Regions from separate parts of the Homo sapiens genome. Here all the other regions are linked to region 1. The links are contacts of gene promoters, found by promoter capture Hi-C in blood cells and fetal thymus (Javierre and others, 2016). All regions are on one chromosome and are shown on one strand. Each heading gives the region's core, a stretch centred on a gene start or on the middle of the fragment in contact. The rest is flanking DNA. Distances are from core to core; before and after follow the strand shown.

The links. The method cuts DNA at HindIII sites, captures the fragments that hold promoters and counts their contacts. A CHiCAGO score of 5 or more calls a contact.
Region 2: a contact is called between a fragment that was not itself captured here and the fragment with the promoter of MERTK in region 1, in 1 of 17 cell types (megakaryocytes). The highest score is 6.3, in megakaryocytes.
Region 3: a fragment that was not itself captured here is called in contact with the fragment with the promoter of MERTK in region 1 in 3 of 17 cell types (erythroblasts, endothelial precursors and megakaryocytes); the score reaches 5.9 in erythroblasts.

What each region holds. Positions count from the first base shown.
Region 1 is chr2:111,897,357-111,902,303 of GRCh38, forward strand. MERTK (MER proto-oncogene, tyrosine kinase) reads left to right here and starts at 1,251. Exons shown (of 19, transcript NM_006343.3): 1 at 1,251-1,440. The coding sequence starts at 1,380. RefSeq lists an enhancer at 390-719. The HindIII fragment of the contact is 4,607 bases long and covers 1-3,414 here.
Region 2 is chr2:112,541,656-112,546,602 of GRCh38, forward strand. It overlaps POLR1B (RNA polymerase I subunit B), which reads left to right and starts at 810. Exons shown (of 15, transcript NM_019014.6): 1 at 810-1,016. The coding sequence starts at 840. TTL (tubulin tyrosine ligase) reads left to right here. Exons shown (of 7, transcript NM_153712.5): 7 at 1-84. LOC105373562 (a long non-coding RNA gene) reads right to left here and starts at 557. Exons shown (of 2, transcript NR_136321.1): 1 at 548-557; 2 at 1-423. RefSeq lists an enhancer at 693-842. The HindIII fragment of the contact is 2,917 bases long and covers 1,594-4,510 here.
Region 3 is chr2:112,449,787-112,454,733 of GRCh38, forward strand. No RefSeq gene overlaps it. Among named protein-coding and RNA genes, the nearest start is that of RGPD8, 19 kb to the left of the region's middle. The HindIII fragment of the contact is 1,664 bases long and covers 1,930-3,593 here.

The DNA.
Region 1 (4,947 bases), core at 1-2,500:
TTGCTGTCGGTGTAAGTAATAACCTGTCTAAACCCATCTGGGCTGCCTGTCTCCTTCCCGTAGCCAAATCTACGGGAAGTGTCCAGCCAGTGTAGGGGTCAAGGGACCGCTTGACGAGACCAACGTAAATTGAAGAGGCGTAAGGAGATGAGGCCAAAGAGGAAAGGGGACCAGGTCACGTAGAACCTCGTAGACCACTGCAGAACCTTGGCTTACGTACGCAGAGACAGCAGGAACCACTGATAGGTTTAGGGAGATTTGAGGAGAGGGACATGATTTGGCTTATGTTATGTTGTTAAAGGGACCACATTAAAATACATTCATTCTAAAAGTGTTACCTTTAAGAAACTACGTATATAAATTAAGTTACTGTTGCCATTATTAGCGTAAGTAGTTACATTTCTCTTACGACTCACTCTCTGCTACTGCCTCTTGGACCCTGCACACCTTGTGGAGGCCCATGAGAGTGACGTGCTGTGGTTCCCCCTCTCCCCACTCCTGCTCTGCACTTTGTCATTCACGTTCATCTCCCTCCTTGAGTGTCACCTCTCTCTGGCTCGTCACGGAGCCACGGCAAAGCGTCCTTTCCCAGGAACCCCTCCCCCTGGGGAGGTGAGCTCCTCGCCGCCAGGGCCGTGTCGCGCACCTCGGGCCGGGTACCCAGGCGGCGCTCGGCGGCGAGCGGAATGGATGTGGAGGAGCGCTCGGCAGGGAGCGCTGCCGCCCTGGCCTTGGCCTCTGGGAGCGGCGCGGCCAGGGTTTTCTGTGTCAGCCAAGCCCGGAATGCGGGGGCGCCTCTGGACCCTCCTCTTGGGTCTGGGGGCTGCCTCGGGCATCCTCTACTCCTCTCCCACCTTCTGTCCTTCCCCATCTCCCACCCACACGTGTGGGGCCCCGGACCCGCGCAGCGGCCAGAGCCTTCCGCTGTGGACCTCCAGTCCACCCCTCCCCTTCACTTCTCTTTCCGGCTCCCTCCGGGTCTCTCAGCCCCCTCCCCTTCCTCTCCGCCCCCTTCCCCGCCGTCTGCCCAGCGGCGGCCTTCGGCCCGCCCCTTCTCTCCAACCCCCTCCCTTTCCCCTTTACGCCCCTCCTCCCCCTCGTCCTCCCGCCCCCTCCCACCCCAACCTGCTGGGCCCGCCGGGACTCGCCCCCCTGCCCGCTCCTCTCCTCCAGCCCCGGCCGGCCTCGGCTCGGCCCCCGGCCCGCCCCTTCCAGCCCTCGGCACCTCCCGCCGGCCGCTTGGCTCCGCCACTCGGCACTCACTGCCCGGGCCGCCCGGACAGGGAGCTTCGCTGGCGCGCTTGGCCGGCGACAGGACAGGTTCGGGACGTCCATCTGTCCATCCGTCCGGAGAGAAATTACAGATCCGCAGCCCCGGGATGGGGCCGGCCCCGCTGCCGCTGCTGCTGGGCCTCTTCCTCCCCGCGCTCTGGCGTAGAGGTGAGTGCGCCCGGCTGGGGGCCAGGCGAGGGGGTGGGGGCTCCCAGGAGGAAGCAGGGGCCTCTGGGGAGGGAGCGCGTCCACAGGGGCGCGCCTGGCTGCTGGACAAGTTTGCAAACACCCTCCACCCACTGCGGTGCCAGAGGAGGGGGCGTAGGCGAACCTACCGTCCACTGACCGCGGCGCCTCAAGCGTCCCGAGGGCACCCAGCCTGGCTTGCGGGTGCGCATCGTGGTGAAGCCGGGTCGGGGTCGGCGTTGCAGGCTCCCCTCTTCACCGCAGAGGAGGAAATCGAGCTCGGCCGGGCGCGCTGCAAGTCCTGAAGTTCCGACGAGTGGAACGTAGGTAGCAGGTCTGGTCTGGGATGCGACGAGAACTTTCCACTAGAGTTGCATGGTGGGGCCCCGCTCTGGCCGGAGTCCCGGGGGCCACAGATCCGGTCTCCCGAGGGACCGGCGCGGGGCGAACGAACGGGCTGCGGGAGTCGGAGCCGCAGTCCGGGAGCCGCGATAGACTGAGGCCGAGCGACGGGCCAGGGGGGGACGGCAGTCCTGGCTGCTCCCAATGGGCCCTTACGGGCATTATTAGTATCCCTTTTTAGGGGCACCCAGAGAGTGTGGGAAAAGGGGAGCGTTCTTTTCACTCCTGTTATGGCAGAACAGAACTTACAGTGCTCGGCAGCGTTTACGTTTATCTGGATTCAGCGAAGTGTTGTTACAGGCTTTTTTTTTTTTAATTTGAGACCGAGTCTCGCCCTGTCGCCCAGGCTGGAGTGCCGCGGCGCGATCTCGGCTCACTGCAGGCTCCGCCTCCCGGGTTCAAGCGATTCTCCTGCCTCAGCCTCCCGAGTAGCTGAGACTATAGACGCGCGCTACCACGTCCGGCTAATTTTTGTATTTTTAGTAGAGACGGGGTTTCACCATGTTGGCCAGGATGGTCTCGATCTCTTGACCTCGTGATCTGCTCTCCTTGGCCTCCCAAAGTTCTGGGATTACAGTCGTGAGCCACCGCGCCCGGCTTGTTCCAGGCATTTTAATACAAGATGCTGGACTGATACGTGGAGGCAAGGAAGGCCGGTTTCATTCTGCTTGAACAGCTTATTTGGGGAGTGAGTGATGAACAGATTTCAAGTTTGATCGCTGATGCACTTCTTGAGGAGGCTGGAATAAACTTACCAGGCTTTACCCAAAAGAAAAAGAAAGGGGAAAAATGCTAAATAAACACATTCCAAGTATTTTCTCTCAGCTAAAAGGTTTCTATTTCCATTCAGCATGTAGATTTTCTCTCTTTTGATCGAGAATGCACTTGACTAGCCTTCACCTATTACAGTCAAAGATGTTTTTTAGGAATACCTGGAAAGCTCAGTTTATAGTCAAGTAAGTTACTTAAAAGTTTTTCCTTTGAGATTTTCCTTTGAAAGCTCATTTACTCAAATGAAAAATTCTTAAACAGTGCACCCACTTTTTGCACGTTAAATTACATAAGCAATTTATAATTTGGGGCAACATAGCAATTTGAAACAAACTTTAAGAGCCAGGCAAAGAACTAAAGCAGTTCTGTTCTCCACTGCCCCTCCCTCCACCAAACCTTCAAAAATTCCTCAGCATTTCTGCCAGCCCCATTTTTCATAATCTGCTGCAAATCTGTTATTTGTTGCTACTAGTGAGGACTGGCCGTGAATAGTCTTGGAGGTAGTGAATGTGGTGAGAACTATGGAGAAAGTAATGGGAACAATAGTTTTGTGTTAAATACTTAAAAATTGGAGTGCTTTTGTTTTTCTAAAATTTTAAAAGGCTGTAATAACAAATTTTTGTAGCTGACAATCAACTTTAATCAGACAATCATAAAAAGGCCTTTTAAAATCCACCCAGCTGGAAGAATGAAAAGTTTCACCAATCGTTCTTGCACTTTTTGCTTTTGGTTTTGAACTTTACCTATGAGATGTGTGACAGTTTTACATCTCACCTTGTGAAAAGCTTAAAGAATGGGATTCTCACTGGCAGAATTACAGCACAAAGGAGTGCTGTATGAAGAAATTAAACATGGAAATTAGACTCTTCATCTAATTTTAAGATTTTCCTATTACACATTGTGGGTCTGAGTGCTTTGCTGACCACACAGGGGAGACAGAGAGAGAGACAATGAGAATATGTGTGTAGATTCTACACTGTTAGCAGTATAGAAGAATGGGTAAATAAAATTTAAGCATCACTTTAACCCAGGAAATCCCCTCTGCCCCCCAACACACATACACACTACACGTCTCACAAAGACATGCACACACAGAACTGGAACTGCCAAACCAGGAGCATTTCGAGGCTTTCCAGTCTTTCCTTTCTGCTCAGTCTCTGATGGGGGTGCCATTGAGCAGCAAAATGAGGCAAGCGGTGGCTCTCTGAAGGGCCAGGGAGAGGATGGAGCAAGATAAATATAAATGTGGATAAAAATGAATGCATTATGAGGACTTAGCTCATGACGAGGCTGTGTGTGCAGCTAAACTCAACCCTTAGAGTAAATTAGGCTTTTAAGATTCTTTAATGTTAATATTTCTTTTCCAAACTGATATTGTAACATGTATTCCAGTATATTGTAAACATCTTCCCAGAGGGAACTTTTAAGTTGTTCTGTTGCTTGTGGGCTTTATTCCAAAGGCTTCAAATGCTTTTTGAAAGTACATCGTGCATATTTTAAAAATGAATACTTTTAGAAAATTATTCTGACCCATTAAAGTGCTGAGTGGAATTCTTTTCTTTTCTTTCTTTCTTTTTTTTTTTTTTTTGGCAGGTTCTCATTCTGCCACCCAGGCTAGAGTGCAGTGGCACCATCACGGCTCACTGCAACCTCAACCTTCCGGGCTCAAGTGATCCTCCCACCTCAGCCTCCCAAGTAGCTATGACCACAGGCACATACCACCATGCCTGGCTAATTTTTTATTTTTTGTAGAGACAGGATCTCACTATGTTGCCCAGGCTGGTCTTGAACTCCTGGGCTCAAGCGATCTTCCCACCTTAGCCTCTCAGAGTGTGGGGATTATAGGCATGAGCCACCATGCACAGCTGAATACAATTTTTAAAAAATTAACAATAATTATGTTTTTTTGTTTTTGAGATAGAGTTTCACTCTTGCTGTCCAGGCTAGAGTGCAATGGCACAATCTCGGCTCACCGCAACTTCCCGCCTCCCGGGTTCAAGCAGTTCTCCTGCCTCAGCCTCCTGAGTAGCTGGGATTACAGGCATGCACCACCACGCCTGGCTAATTTTGTATTTTTGGTAGAGACAGGGTTTCTCCGTGTTGGTTAGGTTGGTCTCGAACTCCCAACCTCAGGTGATCTGCCTGCCTTGGCCTCCCAAAGTGCTGGGATTACAGGCATGAGCCACCACACCCAGCCAATAATTATATTTTTAAATCTTAATTTTTGAAATAATTTCCAGATAATTGTAGAAGGGCCAGTGAGTTACTAGTCAGCATTGGTCAAGAAGAGGTTCAATCTTTTTATGCCTGTGAATT
Region 2 (4,947 bases), core at 1,802-4,301, 650 kb after region 1:
TACACTTTAAATGTGTGGTTTATTGTATGCCAGTTATAACGCAATATAGCTGTTAAACACAAACACAATAAAGTTGAAAAACCAGCAGGCATTCCCTGATTAATCAGTATTCTGGGGAGGTAAGGGGCTCACAGGAACGCAAAAGAAATTCAGGCTGTAAATCCAGTTGGACGCCCCGCTGCCCCATCCCCTCCATCCGGGACCGCCCGACTCCTCTCCCACCTCCTTCCCCAGGCCTCCCCCAGGCCTCCAGTCCGGAAGATGCGACGAGGTTAGCGGGGCCCGACCACTCCTTGGCTTCCCAGGGGTGAGCCTCGCGAGTTAGGAGTTGGGTAGAGAGTCAGCCCGGGGCCCGGCATCCGCTTTTTCGTTGAAGCAACGACTTTGGCCGGATGACTCCCCAGGGTCGGCATCAGCGTGGGACTGGGAACAGGTGAAGGGAAACAGAAGAGAGCCTGAGAAGACCGCTCTCCTCCGATCCTAATTGACTGAGCCAATGAGAGCCAAAGAGGTCACATGCTCAACTGGGCGGGGAGCGGGTTTCCACCTGCGGCATCTTTCGCGAGCGGGGAGATGAGTGGGGCGGAATATGGGAGAAAGGGAGGGCCCGCCACGCTCTGGCTGGACACGGCCTTAATCGGCCCGTTCACTCGACGTTTTTGGTTCTACGTTGACCCCGAGAAACCGAAACCGCAGGGCCTAGGGCGGGTGGAACGAGAGGGAACTACATTTCCCAGCAGGCTGCGGAAACGGGACTGCGGCCACTACTTCCGGCGTGTACCGAGAGACTGGCGTCCGGCGTGTACCGAGAGACTGGCGTCCGGTGTGCAGGTGGCCACATGGATCCTGGCAGCCGGTGGCGGAACCTGCCCAGCGGGCCTAGCCTAAAGCACTTGACTGACCCCTCTTATGGAATCCCGCGGGAACAGCAAAAGGCAGCGTTGCAGGAGCTGACGCGGGCGCACGTGGAGTCCTTCAACTACGCTGTGCACGAGGGTCTCGGCCTCGCGGTGCAGGTGAGCGCGGCGTCCGCCGGCGCCCTTGCCGCGGCGAGGCCAATCCCAGGGAGGTGGCTGGGAGGTCACAGTATGACCCCAGATGCATGTGCTCCTTGATCCTGACAGGCTTGGTGGGTAAGCGGGAGAGCACAACATGTTAAACAGGACGCGGTACTGGCCTTCGTGAGACTTGGAGTCGAGGCGTCTTAAGAGATGTATTCGTGATTCTGGAGTGAAAAGTGATTGTGAACCGTAGTTTGGACAGTTTCGGGGTGCTGTGAGAGTGAGGAAGTGGCTTATCTGGGGATGTGCTTCACAATGCACACGGCTTTATATCACTTGAAGACTTACCTCTCCAAAACGTACCTCGAAAGATCCCGAACGTATTTGTAGGTACAGTGTAATGTTCAAGGTTATCCTTCAGTTTCCTTCTCTTAGAGCTTTAAAGAGAGAAACTACTCGTCATTTGTTATGAATTAAGCAGGTGCCGAGGAAGGTATAAATGAGTCATGAAAGCAAGATTGAATCGAAAAGTGTAATTGCATTATTAGCGTAGAGTAATGGTAGCAGAATTCAAGTGAGTATGGTGGGGGAAAGCTTCGTTTAGTAAGCATCCCCAGTGTCTCCAGGCACTAGGCTCAGAGGATGTGGAGGAGGCAGTCCCGTGTACGAGACAGTTCATGCATTTAAGTGCTCCCTGTCGTGTTTGGGGGTTGAAGGGGTGAAGATAATGAAAGCAGTGCATGCCAATGTTCTTGAGAACTGCTCTGCCAAGGGATTGTGTGGGCTACTGCGGGAGCCTATGGGCGGCGCAACTAATCCAGGAGTTTGAGAAAGGGCAGGATTAGATGAGTTCAAGAAGTGAGAAACGTGCATTTCGTCCAGGGGAAGAGTAGAGCAGAGTCACATGCTTCGGGGACCCTACCTGTGGTTTTGTTGGGTAAGATTTGTGTTGTGGGAGATAGGGATACAGATAATGTGGAGAGCTTTGATTGCCAGTCTGATTCTTGAACTCTATTCGGCAAATAATATGGGAGCCATTAAGATTTATTGTTTAGAAAGACTAGAGGGGTGGGGGTTATTTGTATTGTGCCTGGATTGTTACAGTATCATGTCTGTGAGAAAAAATTCCTAATTAAAAGTTAATCGGGCTGGGTGCAGTGGCTCACACCTGTAATCCAGGACTTTGGGAGGCCAAGGCAGAAGGATGACTTGAGCCCAGGATTTCAAGACCAGCTTGGATAACATAGTGAAACCCCATCTCCACAAAAATTTAAAAATTAGTGGGGCATGGTGGTGCGCACCCAAGTAGCTGGTCCCAGCTACTCGGGAGGCTGAGGTGGGAGGATAAGTTGAACCCAGGAATTTGAGGCTGCAATGAGCTATGATTGTGCCGCTGCACTCCATCCTCGGTAACAGAGTGAGACCTGTCTTTAAAAAAAAAAAATCCAATTGAGAAATTTTAGAAAAGCACTAATTTAAAAATAAGCCAGTCGGCTGGGTGTGGTGGCTCTTGACTGTAATCCCTGCACTTTGGGAGGTCAAGGCGGGTGGATCACTTGAGGTCAGGAGTTCCAGACCAGCCTGGCCAACCTGGTGAAACCCCATCTCTACTAAAAAATACAAAAATTAGCCGGGCATGGTGGCACATGTCTGTAATCCCAGCTACTCAGGAGGCTGAGGCACGAGAATCGCTTGAACCTGGGAGGCGGAGGTTGCAGTGAGCCAAGATTGCACCACTGCATTCCAGCCTGGGTGACAGAGTGAGACTCTCCCAAAAAAATAAATACATAAATAAATAAACCAATTATATGTTAACATTTTTAAGAAAAATATTTTCCAAAGCAAAAAAGAAGTTAGATGAATTGCATTATTAAAAATCTTTTTAATGTCTGGCTTAATGAAAAGACAGCTGGATTCTCATGTCTGCTTGTGCATTCAGTCCCTTGTGATAATTGTTTTGGTTGAAGTAGATGAAGAAAATTTGGCCCTGCATAGAAAATGATGCCACAACTTAGCTAGGACTATAATAATATAGTATTTGAAAAAGTTCTGTAAAACACAGTAACATAAATAACTAATACTTATAAAGCCAAGGGAAAAAATAGTTATCATATTTTTTACTTACAAAACATAATTTTGCCAAGTTTCTTTGGAGTGAATTCCTCCTTTCTGTGAGTCAGAATTTATGTGTCTGTCTTTTCAAAATACAATTGATTTTTATTACTTGGGGATTCCATATTTGCAAATTCACCTACTCACTAAAATTTACTTCTACTCCAAAAGCACCATGCCCAGAAGCAGCAAAAAAGTTGAGTTGCTCAGTGTCCATTTTCCCAGCTGAGATCTAACAAGGTGATGCTCGGCCTTCTTGTTTTAAGTTCTTAAACTATAAACAGAGGTTGTCTTCACTATCTATTTAGTGCCGTGTTTTGTGCTTTTTGTTGGTGATTTTGCTGTTTAAAATGTCCCCCAAGCAAAGTATTAAAGTATTAAAGTTCTGTATAAAGTTCCTAAGCACAAGAAGGCTGTGCTGTGCCTTTAGGGGAAAATATTAATACATGCATTTAACATAGGCTTTGTTCAGGCATGCGTTAGGGACTCAATAATATATATTAGATAAGCTGTCCTTAAACAGAAACCCACATAATGCAAGGTTGTGTATTGATCAGTGGATGAAATCATAGGCTTTGTTCAGGCATGAGTTACGGACTCAATAATATGTATTAAATAAGCTGTCCTTAAACAGAAACACACATAATACAAGATTGTGTGTTGATCAGTTGATGAAATGTGACCAGAGGCTCGCAGGAAGCTAACCATGTATTTACCCTAGGAGCAGTGGTTCAGTATTGGCTAATTCAGTGTTTATGGCAACTGTATAGAACATAACTATTATGAATAATGACAGTTCACTGTATTTCCTTCTAAATAGTGCAGCTGCGTCTTGAGAAAGCAAATTGTCTAATCTCTCTTTTTTTAACTTCATTCTGTTTTTTTTTTTGAGACAGGATCTCACTTTGTCACCTAGGCTGGAATGCAGTGGCATGGTTATAGCTCACTGCAGCCTCGACCTTCCAGGATCAAGTGATCCTCCCACGTCAACCTCTTGAGTAGCTGGGACCACAGGCGTGCACCACTATGCCCGGCTAATTTTTTTATTTTTATTTTTTGTAGAGACGGGGTCTCCCTATGTGGCCCAGCCTGGTCTCAAACTCCTGAGCTCAAGTAGTCCTCCTCTCTCGGTCTCCCAAATATTGGGATTACAGGTATAAGCCACTGCATCTGGCTTTTATTTTTAAATAAAATATGAATTTCTAAAATAATACCAGCTTTAGATAACATTTTAAAATTTAGAAAAGGTAAGTTAACTCACGTGAAGGTGGAGAACCTCCTTGGTATTCTTTCTTGGTTCCATTTTTTCATTTTCATTATTCTAAGACTAAGTCTAGGAGGTTGCTTGTAATTAATATATAGGAGAGCTTGGTGATGCCCCTTCCTCAGAACAGCAAAGCTTCCCCTACAGAATGGTACAAAGAAGTAACTTCTGTGGAAGGGGAAACCCAGCCTGGCCACCATCTTTTCCTTTGCATGGCTCTGGCTTCAGTTTGACGTTGCCATTGTACATTAAGCATCTAGTCTTAAATCCTAAAGGATGTTTCCGTATCCTTGCTCTATTAGCAGTAGTCCCATTTGTCTTGCTATGCACATAGACAAGTTAAGAATACACAAGGCTCTTGGTTCAGAGAACAGGAATTTTGTTCTGTTCACAGCTGTATCCCTAGAGCCTACTACAGTCTCTGACACATGTGGTCACTCAAAACAATCTTGTACTAATAATGCTTTGTGGTTTTAAGTATTTAGTGAAGTTATGAGTAGACTGGAGGTAGCTTTTTTTTTTTTTTTTTTTTTTTTTTTTTTTTTTTGAGACGGAGTCTCGCTCTGTCGC
Region 3 (4,947 bases), core at 1,512-4,011, 550 kb after region 1:
CATGGTGGTGGGAGCCTGTAGTCCCAGCTACTCGGGATGCTGAGGCAGGAGAATCACTCGAACCCGGGAGGTGGAGGTTGCAGTGAGCCCGAGATTGCGCCACTACACTCCAGCCTGGGTGACAGAGTGAGACTGTGTCTCCAAAAAAAAAGGATGATTCAGAGGGCAAAAATAAGGAGTCCAGAGGATGGAGCCAAGAGCCATGGAGAATTATTTTTAGCAGGAATGAGACTGAGTTCTAAAATTTGGATTTCAGAATTGCTATGGACCAGTAACACCTGTGTGCCTCCTATTTGCCCCTTTTTTGTGTGTAGAGATTATCTTGTGCCTGTCCCACCATCGTATATTGGGTGATATGGTTTGGCTATTTTCCCAAGCAAATCTTGTCTTGAATTGTAGCTCCCGTAATACCTATATGTTGTGAGAGGGACCCAGTGGGAGATAATTGAATCATGGGGGCAATTTCCCCTATGCTGTTCTGGTGGTAGTGAATAAGTCACATGAGATCTGACGGTTTTATAACGGGTTTCCCCTTTCACTTGGCTCTCATTCTCTCTTTGTCTGTCACCATTTAAGACGTGGATTTACTCCCCCCGCTTGCCTTCCACCATGATTGTAAGGCCTCCCCAGCCCTGTGGAACTGTGAGTCAATTAAACGTCTTTCCTTTGTAAATTACCCAGTCTCAGGTATGTCTTTATTAGCAGCATGAGAACAGACTAATACATTGGGTGTGGGAGGTGGGCAGGTATCTCGTCTCTTTAGCTTCAGAAATCCACAGATCAATTGGAACTGTGCTTAAGGAGCTGTACTTGGGGAACTACACCTGATGTATCTCAACCATACCTGGACCTGATTTAGATGATGGGATTCTGGACTTAGAGCTGATGTTATGAGGTGAGGCTCTGGGGACTCTTGGAGAGTTGTAGATGTATTTGCCATGAGGGAGGGATGTGAATCACTGGGGACCAGAGAGCAGACTATGGTAGGCAGCTTCCTAGGATGGTCTCCAGTGATCTCCACTTCCTGGTATTCAACCTCTTGTGTAATCCCCTCCCCTTAAGTGTGGCCTGGACCTGTTGCTTGCTTTTCATGAATAGAATATGGAAAAAGTGATGGAATATTATTACTGGAAAGGGGTCCCGATCCAGACCCCAAGAGAAGGTTCTTGGATCTCACACAAAAAAAGAGTTCAAAGTGAATTCATAGAGTAAAGTGACAGCAAGCTTATTAAGAAAGTAAAGGAATAAAAGAATGGCTACTCCATAGGCAGAGCAGTGGTGTGGGCTGCTCGACTAAGAACACTTACGGTTCTTTCTTGATTATATGCTAAACAAGGGGTGGATTATTCATGAGTTTTCCAGGAAAGGGGAGGACAATTCCCAGAACTGAGGTTTCCTCCCCTTTTTAGACCATGCAGGGTAACTTCCAGACATTGCTAAGGCATTTGTAAACTGTCATGGCACTGATGGGAATGTCTTCTAGCATGCTAACGCATTATAATTCGTGGATAACGAGCAGTGAGAATGACCAGAGGTCACTTTCATTGCCATCTTGGGTTTGGTAGGTTTTGGCTGGCTTCTTTACTGCAAACTGTTTTATCAGCAAGGTCTTTGTACTTTGTGCTGATCTCCTATGTCATCCTATGACTAAGAATGCCTAACCTCCTGGGAATGCACCCCAATAGGTCTCAGCCTAATTTTACCCAGCCCCTATTCAATATGGAGTCGCTCTGGTTCAAACACCTCTGACAATATTACTTCAAAGATTAAGTTACAAAAGACTGTGGCTTTTTTCTTGCTTACCATCTCTTACCCTCTTTCTTGCTCACTGTAGTGAGGCCAGCAGGCATGTTGTAAACTGCCCAATGGAAAAGCCTATGTAGTAAGGAACCAAGAGAGGCTTCCAGCCAACAGCTTTTGAGGAATTGAAGCTTTAGTCTAATAACCCATGTAGAAACTGGCCAACAACCATGTGAGAGTGCTTGGAAGCTGATCTATCCCTAATCAAGCCTGAAGGTAACTGCAGCCCTGCTGACACCTTGACTGCAACCAGAGCCCAAGGATCCAGCTACGTTATGTCCAGATTCCTGACTCAAAGAATCTATGAGCTAATAAACGTAGGGGTTTTAAGCCACTAAGCTCTGGAGCAATTCGTTATGCAGCAACAGAGTGTGTAATAATTACCCTCAAACATAGCAGCTTAAAATAACAAGCATTTATTACCTCAGTTTCTGAGGATCAGGAATCCACCTGCAGCTTAGCTGGGTGGTTCTGGCTCAGAGTGTCTCACGAGGGTGTAGTCAAGCTATCCGCCTGAGCTGCAACATCTCAAGGCCTGACTGAGGCTGGAGAATCCACTTCCAAGCTCACTGTATGGTTGTTGGGAGGCCAGACACTCAGTTCTTTCCATATAGGTTTCTCCACAGGGCTACCTCACAACATAGCAACTGGCTTCCCCCAGAGCAAGTGGTCAGAGAGAGATCTCAAGACTGGCTGTCGTCTTTTTGTAATCTATTCTCAGACGTGACATGCTATCACTCTTGCCTATGATGTTGGACACACAGATTAAACTTAGTGTAACATGGGAGGGGACTACACAAGATTGTAAATACTAGGTGTCAGGGATTATTGGGGGCCATCTTGAAGGCTCATTACCAACTTCCTGTGTCCATTTCTCTTCTTCCCATTAGTTTTATCTAAGAATAGGCCAACCTGTCAGAGATTACGTTCTCTGGACTCCTTTTTAGCTAGATTGGTAGTGTGACTACATTCTGACTAAAGGCACACATATGGAATAAAGTCATGTGACTTTGGGGTTATGCCCTTAAAAAGGATTTTGTTTCTCTCCCCCATTTTTCTCTCATACCATGGGCTGGAACATAGGTATAGTGAGACTATGCAGGTAACACCCTAAGGGATGGCTACGAAAACAAAAAAGAATTTGGCTCCTTGAATTAACTCATAGGTTGCAGCAGCCTACATCACTTGGACATCCTGCCAGCTTTGGATTTTCAGAGAAATAAACCTATCTTATGTAAGTTCCTATACTTAATCATTTTTAGGTAGTTGAATCTCCTAAAAAAAACACTACAATCAGCCCACTATTGAACTGACCCAAGGATATTCAGACTACAGAATCCAGAGATAAATCAAGCACATTTCAGAATTTAATGTAAGACAATGGCACAGTATTTCAATTTAATGAGAAAATGATAGCTTATTAAATAAATTATCATGTTGATATTACCAGACAAGTTTACATAAACAAGAGACATCTTTCTGACTGTGATTCCAACCTTGCTGTCTAGTACAGTAATGATGCTCACCTTCCTCCTGACATTTAGGAGCTGTCATATGGCCCTTACTGTGCTGGGATCCTATGCTCCCCATTGCTAACAGGAAGTCCAGTTCTGTAACAGCATCCCCACCATTCTTCTTGACCTTCAGAAGACATTTGCTACCGTGCCTCTCATTGATGCTGCTGCCCTCCCACCAGTGCCTTCTTAGCTCTGATAAATGGAGTGTCTTTTTGAACTCTTTGTCCATAGTTCTGGCATCTCTGCTTCATTTAATGTGGGCCATTGATTTTTCCAAGCTTCTGAAGCTTTGCAGCGGTATATTAGAGCTTTCTTGTGGGGCTCATTGCAGGTGTTAAATCTTGTGTTATGTAAAAGATGCCCCCACCTTGAGAAGGCTTCTGTATTGGAGTTCTCCAGAGGGGGAGAACAAATAGGATGTATAGGATATACGGATATATCCTATATATATCCTATACATCCTATCAAATAGGATGTATAGGATATATAGATACATAGATATATATCTATGTATCCTAGGATATATCTATATATCTATATATATGTATCTATATATCTATATATCCTAGGATACATAGATATATCCTATATATTTGTATAGGATATATAGGATGTATAGGATATATAGATGTATAGGATGTATAGGATATATAGATATATCCTATATGATATATGTGATATATCATATATCACATATATGTATGTGTGTGTATATATATCTCTCTCCTATATCTATATCTCTATCTATCTATCTATCTACAGGAGTTTATTAGGGAAAACTGCCTCACATGATTACAAGGTGACTGTCTGCAAGCTGGGGAAAGAGAGAATCAGTAGTGGCTCAGTCCAAGTCAGAAGGCCTCAAAACCAGGGAAGCCAACAATGCAGCTTCAGTCTGAGGCCAAAGGCCTAAGAGCTCTCAGGAAGCCACTGGAGTCTGAGGTCCAAGGGCAGGAAGAGTGGAAGCCAGTGGCCGGCATGGGAAGAAGAAAGAAAGCCAGAAGACTCAACAAGCAAACTTATCCTATTTTCTGCCTTCTTCATTCTAGCCTGGCAGCTAGATTGGATGGTGCCCACCCACACTGAGGGTGGGTCTTCCTCTCCCAAACCAACAACTCAAATGTCAGTCTCCTCTGGCAATACCCTCACAGACACACCCAGAAACAATGCCAGCTATCTAGGTGTCCTTCAATCCAATCAAGTTGACACCTAATATGAACAGCTTCCTTATGCAGCCTCACCTTCTACCCAACCTTGACTCCTAGCCATTAAGATCTATTCCTAGGTACACACTACCAGTTCTCTTAATCCCTGTTATTCAGGCCCTGCTGCTCCTTTACATATAACATCTCCCTCCCTCAGCAGGGCAAGCATATCCTGAGGTAGATCAGGCTTTGAAATTCCACTCTAGTTAATGACCTTGTAGCCAGGCTGATCTTGAACTCCTGGGCTCAAGCAATTCTCCTGCCACAGCCTCTCACAGTGCTGGGATTATAGATGTGAGCAAAACATCCAGCCAATCCTTTAGAAAAGGGGTGCACCTATGATTATCAGCAGGTAAGCCTCACAGCAGCTGGGCATGGATGCACTGACCTGGTGAAGGGATGTGGGTAGAGAAAGAGCACTAGCC